Regions from separate parts of the Homo sapiens genome. Here region 2 is linked to region 1. Evidence: promoter capture Hi-C in human tissues and cell types (Jung and others, 2019). All regions are on one chromosome and are shown on one strand. The core of a region is centred on a gene start or on the middle of the fragment in contact, and the rest is flanking DNA. Distances in the headings are between cores, read along the strand shown. Region 1 holds the start of MSANTD3-TMEFF1 (MSANTD3-TMEFF1 readthrough). Region 2 overlaps MSANTD3-TMEFF1 (MSANTD3-TMEFF1 readthrough).

What was found. The method cuts DNA at HindIII sites, captures the fragments that hold promoters and counts their contacts. A contact is called where the count stands out against the background at its distance.
Region 2: a fragment that was not itself captured here is called in contact with the fragment with the promoter of MSANTD3-TMEFF1 in region 1 in 2 of the 25 tissues and cell types used here (bladder and hippocampus).

Annotation. Positions count from the first base shown.
Region 1 is chr9:100,439,403-100,443,711 of GRCh38, forward strand. It overlaps MSANTD3-TMEFF1 (MSANTD3-TMEFF1 readthrough), which reads left to right and starts at 2,504. Exons shown (of 10, transcript NM_001198812.1): 1 at 2,504-2,954. The coding sequence starts at 2,537. It overlaps MSANTD3 (Myb/SANT DNA binding domain containing 3), which reads left to right. Exons shown (of 3, transcript NM_080655.3): 2 at 2,504-2,954. The coding sequence starts at 2,537. The HindIII fragment of the contact is 6,684 bases long and covers 1,542-4,309 here.
Region 2 is chr9:100,501,649-100,505,394 of GRCh38, forward strand. All of the region lies in intron 2 of MSANTD3-TMEFF1 (MSANTD3-TMEFF1 readthrough), which reads left to right. The region is part of intron 2 of TMEFF1 (transmembrane protein with EGF like and two follistatin like domains 1); the gene reads left to right. Among named protein-coding and RNA genes, the nearest start is that of TMEFF1, 30 kb to the left of the region's middle. The HindIII fragment of the contact is 6,920 bases long and covers 1-3,746 here.

The sequences.
Region 1 (4,309 bases), core at 1,254-3,753:
ACAAAGGTTGAGAAAATAATGAATCCTTGTGTACATATGACCTTTGATTTCAAATTATTCCATTTTTGGCTTGTGGGGCTCTTTTCAAGTTGGTTCCTAATTTTTTTTTTTTTAATTTTTTTTTCGAGACAGAGTCTTGCTCTGTCATCCAGGCTGGAGTGCAGTGGCGCGATCTCAGCTCACTGCAAGCTCCGCCCCCCGGGGTCAAGCAATTCTCCTGCCTCAGCCTCCCGAATAGCTGGGACTACAGGCGTCTGCCACCACTCCCAGCTAATTTTTTTTTTTTTTTTGTAATTTTAGTAGAGACGGGGTTTCACTGTGTTAGCCAGGATGGTCTCCATCTCCTGACCTCGTGATCCGCCCGCCTCAGCCTCCCAAAGTCCTGGGATTACAGGTGTGAGCCATTACGCCTGCCCAGTTCCTAATTTTTTGACATGATTGGTCAGTTTTAAATGGACTGCCTCATCAGTATCTTGATGCATGCCTGTTACTCTGAGAAATCAGAGGCTTGGAGAATGTAAGAAGGACTGGGAATACGTAGGCCCTTCCCAACTAGGGGAACGATAATGCTTACTTTATTGCCGCAGTCAGTGTTGCTTAGCTACATTTTTGCCGTAACATATTTGAGAGGTTAATTTTATAGGAAGCTTTCTGTGATTGAAAGATATGGGAATAGCGTGCAGTCCTAAAACACACATAGGTTTCATACACTTCACTGGAAGAAGACATTCACTAAGCACCTGTTGTGTGAAACATGCTGACCCGGCACTGTAGAGGATGACAAAGTGACTTATGGGAATCATGGTTGAATCATTTGGAGTGACCCAAGGCAAGAGGCCGAGAAACAGCTGTGGAATGATTCTAAGAATACCAGACTCCTAGGGCAGTCCAAGCTCTGGACTTTCTATGTCACCATCTTTGTGATCTTGTGCAATCCACTTCACCTTTCTGACCCTTTCTTCTCTCAGCTGGAAAGAGACTTGAGGAATGTAAAGAGGGACACTGGACTCAGTCTCTTAAGTGCCTAGGCCCTTTCACATCTGAAATTACATACATTGTTTACTTAGGATTTTAAAAAACAGCCCGCATACCTGAAGGATCACAGACTCCAACCCCTCATTTTAAAGATGAAAAAACTGAGGTTGCCATTGCTCCAGGTACATGCCACAGAGTGATGAAAACGTCAAATTTTTTTTTTTTTTTTTTTGAGACAGTGTCTCCTTTGTCATCCAGGCTGGAGTGCGGTGGTGCAAACATGGCTCACTGTAGCCTCGACCTCCTGGGCTCAAGCAGTCCTCCTACCTCAGCCTCCCAAGTAGCTGGGATTACAGGTGCATGCCACCACACCTGGCTATTTTTTTTTCTTCTTTTTCTTCCCTTTTTTTTTTTTTTTTTTTTTTTTTTTAGAGACAGGGTTTTGCCTTGTTGCCCATGCTAGTCTCGAACTCCTGGGCTCAAGCAATTTACCTACCTCAGCCTCCCAAAGTGCTGGGATTACAGGTGTGAGCCACTGTGCCCGGCTGTACATCTTTTTTTTTTTTTTTTTTTTTTGAGATGGAGTCTCACTCTGTCACCCAGGCTGGATTGCAGTGGCACGATCTTGGCTCACTGCAACCTCCACCTCCCGGGTTCAAGTAGTTCTCCTGCCTCAGCCTCCTGACTAGCTGGGATTACAGGCGCACGCCACCACGCCCAGCTAATTTTTGTATTTTTAGTAGAGATGGGGTTTCACCATGCTGGTCAGGCTGGTCTGGAACTCCTGACCTCGTGGTCCGCCTGCCTCAGCCTCCCACATCATATTTTATATTTGAGTACACGGTGGCTTCTTTTGTCCTCAGCTGTGACAAAAGTTTTGGAAAGCTGTTTAGTTCTAAAACTGGCTAACATGATTTGGGGGAATAATCAGTTCCCTAATATTAAAGAAAAATCAATTAACAAATCAGAGTCTAGGCCGGGCGTGGTGGCTCACGCCTGTAATCCCAGCACTTTGGGAGGCCGAGGCAGGCAGATCACTTGAGGTCAGTAGTTCGAGACCAGCCTGCCCAACATGGTGAAACCCTGTCTCTACCAAAACTACAAAAAAAAAATTAGCCGGGCGTGGTGACAGGCACCTGTAATCCCAGCTACTCAGGAGGCTGAGGCAGGAGAATTGCCTGAACCCGGGAGGTGGAGGTTGCAGTGAGCTCAGGTCGTGCCACTGCACTCCAGCCTGGGTGACAAGAGCGAGACTCCGTTTCAAAAAAAAAATGTTCAACTTTTCTTTTTTTGCTGTTATATACCAGATAGTCACAGTATAGCCACAACAATCCACTTTGAAATAAAACCCCATTCCTAGTACATTTCTAAATATTCTCCAGAGTCCTGAATATCATAATTCAACCTTAATGGAAAAGAAAGTACTGTATTTCAGACAAGGGAATCAAGTCAGGAATTAAGCTTCAGTGATTTATAGGCATTGTTTTTGCTGGAGTTGGTAATCATTGCTTCAAACTTCCTTTTACAGGATAGCTAGCGGCCAGGAGAAATACAGTGGAAAATGCAAAACAACGAAATTATAAAGCCTGCCAAATACTTCTCAGAATTGGAAAAGAGCATCCTGCTGGCTTTAGTAGAAAAGTATAAATATGTGCTGGAATGTAAGAAAAGTGATGCGCGAACTATTGCCCTTAAGCAGCGTACCTGGCAGGCGCTGGCCCACGAATACAACTCTCAGCCCAGCGTGTCCCTGCGGGATTTCAAACAGCTGAAGAAGTGCTGGGAGAACATCAAGGCTCGGACCAAAAAAATTATGGCCCATGAAAGGAGAGAGAAAGTGAAACGGAGCGTCAGCCCTCTCCTGAGTACCCACGTCCTAGGGAAGGAGAAGATCGCCAGCATGCTGCCGGAGCAGCTCTACTTCCTGCAGAGCCCCCCGGAGGAGGAGCCCGAATACCACCCCGACGCCTCAGCCCAAGGTATCCGTTCCTGATGCCAGTGTGCACGCTCTCACTGGGTATCTGTTTGACATTTTAATTTTAAAACCCTCCACTTTGAGGGAACTTCTAAAAATGAAACTTTTGTATCAAATCCAATTTTCCTAATTCAAGATCTCAGGATTATATAGGACATTCAAAGTCTTATAGAAGTGGGCGTGGTGGCTCGTGCCTGTAATCCCAGCACTTTGGGATGCTGAGGCGGGAGGATGGCTTGAGCTCAGGAATTTGAGACCACCCTGGGCAACAAAGTGAGACCCCTGTTTCTACAAAAAATAGAAAAAATTAGCTGGGCATGGTAGCATGCACCTGTAGTTCCAGCTACTCGGGAGGCTGAGGCTGGAGGATAACTTGAGCCCAGGAGGTGGAAGCTGCAGTGAGCTGTTATTGCGCCACTGCACTCCAGCCTGGGTGACGGAGTGAGACCCTGTCTCAAAAAAAAAAAAAAAAAAAAAGTAATATATAAAAACAAAAGTACTTGTTTACATCATTGTGCTAGCTCTCTTGGAGACTTTATTATTACTTAAACATAAAGAAAAATAAGGGACTGGATTAATGGAGTTCTTATTAGTGAGGTGCTGCAGTTGCCTATCAGCCTGTCTCAAATATGTTAAAGAGAATTGTATGAAGATTTGTATTCATCCACTCAATTTCACTTTTTTCAAAAAATATTTTTGGAGGTCCTTATTATTTGCAAAGCATTGCAGTAGGCCACTCAAAAGGCCATATTAAAAGAGTCAACCGGCTGGGTTCTGTGGCTCATGCCTGTAATCCCAGCACTTTGGGAGGCTGAGGTGGGCGGATCACCCGAGGTTGGGAGTTTGAGACCAGCCTGACCAACATGGAGAAACCCCGTCTCTACTAAAAATACAAAATTAGCCGGGCGTGGTGGTGCATGCCTGTAATCCCAGCTACTTGGGAGGCTGAGGCAGGAGAATCGCTTGAATTCGGGAGGCAGAGGTTGTGGTGAGCCAAGATAGCACCACTGCACGCCAGCGTAGGCAACAAGAGCAAAACTCCATCTCAAAAAAAAAAAAAAGAACTATTTCAAACTTTAAAAAAAGTGCAAAGAATAATATGATAAACGCCTGTTTTAGCATTCACCCAGATTAAAAACCAGCATTTTTTGCCATTATACTATTGTGATCCACAGTTTTGGTTTGTGGCACCCCAGGGATCTTGAAAAGCTCCAAAAGAAATTAACTTTAAGTTTAATATACTTCCATTAAAAAGAGAAAAATATGTCATACATAATTCTTGGGGAAAAAAACACTGTCATATAATGAAGGATGCAATGATAGTGTGTCATAGCTTCAAAAGGTTGGAATTTAGGGGCT
Region 2 (3,746 bases), core at 459-2,958, 61 kb after region 1:
TTATTATTATTTTTTGAGATGGAGCCTCGCTCTGTTGCCAGGCTGGAGTGCAGTGGTGCGATCGTGGCTCACTGCAACCTCCGCCTCCCGGGTTCAAATGATTCTCCTGCCTCAGCCTCCCTAGTAACTGGGACTGCAGGTGCATGCCACCACACCCAGCTAATTTTTGTGTTTTTAGTAGAGACGGGATTTCACCATGTTGGCCAGGATGGTCTCGAACTCTTGACCTCGTGAACCGCCTGCCTTGGCCTCCCAAAGTGCTGGGATTACAGGCATGAGCCACCGCGCCTGGCTACTTTGATTTATTTTTAAAAAGAGTAATGTATGCCCATAGTAAACAACTTGAACAATATAAGAAGATATGTAGCAAAAAAAGCTTCCACTCCAGACTGTCAACTCTTCTCAAAGGCAACATCTGTTACTTCTTGCATTTCCTTCTAGAAGTATTTTGTGTGTATATAAATTTGTTTAATTCCCCTTTTAAATATTAAATCATTTAATAGTATTTATCTTGGAGATTGTTCCTTTCCAGGAACAATAGATTCCAAAGAACTCTATATTTTAAAGAAGTTATCCTAATTTCATTTTTTTGTTTTTCTTTTTAACACTATGTATTTTTAATTGACAAAAATAATTGTATATCTTAGTTTCATTTTCATTTTGTTTATATTTTAGACACAAAGAAATTTCAGATTTTCACCTTATATTTATCTGTCTTTTTTTTTGTTTGAGACGGGGTCTCACTCTGTTGCCTAGGCGGGAGTGCAGTGACACAATCATAGCTTACTGTAGCCTTGACCTCCTGGGCTCAAATGATCTTCCCACCCCAGCCTCCTGAGTAGCTGGGACAGCAGGTGTGCATCACCACACCTGGCTGATTAAAAAAATTTTTTTTTGTAGCGCCAAGACCTCTAGGTTGCCCAGACTGGTCTTGAACTCCTGGGCTCAAGCAGTCTTCCCACCTTGGCGTCCCAAAGTGCTGGGATTACGGGTATGAGCTGCTATGCCCAGCCCTGCTTTTCTTCATTTTTTGAGAAAAGTATTTCCCTGAAACTCTAAGATTATAAAGAAATAGCCTTTTTGACGTTTTAAAAAATATACTTGAACAGCTAGAAAATCCTTCCATGATCTGTCTGAATTCCTTGCATTTTTACCTTGTGGCAAAGCAGGGAAGGAAAATATGTTGGGAGTTGACACCATTAGACATTTATCCAGTGCTTACTTGTGCTGGGTATGAGACTAGATGCTGAGGATGTAAAGATGTTTAAAGACTGGTTCCTTGCCTTGTAGGAGCAAACTGCCTCAGGGCTTACAGTATAGTTTGATCTTGCTGCCGAGTGAACCTTCCTTTGACCATTCTGCCTTCCTTTATAAGATTATAAATCTGTTCAGGGTAGACTTAGGTTATTGCCAGCTTAAAAATAATGACCTGACATGCCCATTAAACCCTTCTCTGCTGGATGCTTTAGCAGTATCTTTCAATTCATTTTAAAAACTTGCTTATGATTCAGCATGCTTTTAGTGCTAAATAGAAGCTTTCTGGGACATTATTTAAATACATTTTAACAGATAACAGGATTTTAAATAAAAATTCAAATTGTTTTTTTTTTTAGTCTGCTAATAAGAGCTATTATCTTGCCACACATATAAACAAAGCCACTTTTGCTAATTTGGTATATAGAAACATGATTAATACTGCATCTTTCCCTGAAAACTTTGTATAGAGTACAGTCTATGACTTTTTTTCCTGTTTTCTTTCTTCATCTTTGTTCTGGCATTCTCTGAACTATGTGTCTTTCTTCCTGTATTTATCAATGTCTGCTCTTGCTAGGTGCCATGCCCTCTTATTAGACCCTTTATTAGTCACAGTTCTCCAGAGAAACAGAAACACACACACACACACACACACACACACACACACACACACACGAATGTGAGAGCGAGCGAGCAATAAGGAATTAGCTCATTTGATTATGGAGGCTGAGAAGTCCTACAGTCCGTCATCTGTATACTAGCCCAGGAAAGCCAGTGGTACAAGTCCCTATCTGAGACTGAAGGCCTGGGCACCAGGAGAAGATCGATGTCCTAGCTTAAGCGGTCAAGCAAAAGGAGAGAAGAATTCTATTCAGTTCTTCAGTGGATTGAATAGTGCCCACTCACACTGGGGAGGGCAGTCTGCTTTACTTGATCCACTGATGCAAATATTAATCTCATCTAGAAATTCCTTCACAGATAAACCCAGAAATGATGTTTAGTCTGGGCACCATGGGGCCCAGTCAAGTTGACATAGAAAATTAATCATCACAACCTTGTTATTATTTTCTACTTGCTGTATTCAGCATAGTTCCTGACACACAGTAGGTACACAATAAATGCTTGAATGGATGCAGTTCCAGAGTCGTACACTGCTCCATCTTTCTAAACTACTTGAAATAGCTGGCAACATCATCACATTCTTCTAGCTAAAGAAAAGGTACAGGGGAGAGTTCTTCCTCCCAACAAGGGTGGCAATATAGAGGAGCAGACTTTAGGTTAGACTTAGAATCCACCATCAGTGCATAAGTCAGAAATCGCATGTTGTTAAAATTGTCCAAATCCCATAATTTGTCCATTAGCATAATTAGAGGCTTCCAGGAGAGACCCATGGAAACTGAGAATGACCAACAGCAGGTCTACTTCTCCCATCTCACACTCACTCCTAGGTATATGCTTGTGAGGGTGAATTTCAGAGACATTAAGTCCTCTGCTCAGTGTCACCAAGTGACAGATGGCAATACACCACTGACTTAACTTGAGTGTGTAGTGGTTAAAATACATCATATGGGAGGAATTGTGGCTCTTCCACTTATTAGTGACTATTGGCAAATACTTACGACTGAGAAATGATACTAGCAATAGCAAAATAGCTAATGTTTATTGAGAATGTACCATGGTCAGATAGAAATGCCAAAGGTAGATTATCTTATTTAATCTTCATAACAACTTTGTTAGGTAGGTAGTATTATAATCACCGTTGTACACCATTGAACATGGTGATGGTGCTAGCCCATAGTCACATGGTTGGTGGGCCCAGGATTTGAATTCAAACATTTTTGGCTTTATAGCCTTAGCTCTAAGCATTCAACCATGTGCTTCACATGGTTTATGATATTTAAGTTAGGACACTTAAAGTTGTAGACTAATGCTTCCTGGATAAAAAATGTGAAGATTCTCAGCCCTATCAGAATTAATGCTTCATTTTAATATTCAGTTTCTTTACTATCCTTAGAAGAAATTCACGGATAAATTAACCTACATAAACACATGATTAAAGAAATGAATTTAATGCATGATTGCAATGTAAAGGAGAAATAAAAGTAATTTATAATAAAATAAATATTTCAGAATGTAAATGCTTAGGTATGATTACCATAGAAGAAAATACAGTCATCAGATGTTTGTGTCTGCTTATGATAAATGTTTGGATTAAAAAAATTAAAAGCAGGTCGGGCGCGGTGGCTCATGCCTGTAATCCCAGCACTTTGGGAGGCCGAGGTGGGCGGATCACGAGGTCAGGAGTTCAAGACCATCCTGGCCAACATGGTGAAACCCCGTCTCTACTAAAAATACAAAAATTGGCTGGGCATGGTGGTGTGTGCCTGTAATCCCAGCTACTTGGGAGGCTGAGGCAGGAGAATTGCATGAACCTGGGAGGCGGAGATAGCAGTGAGCCTAGATTGCACCACTGCACTCCAACCTGGCGACAG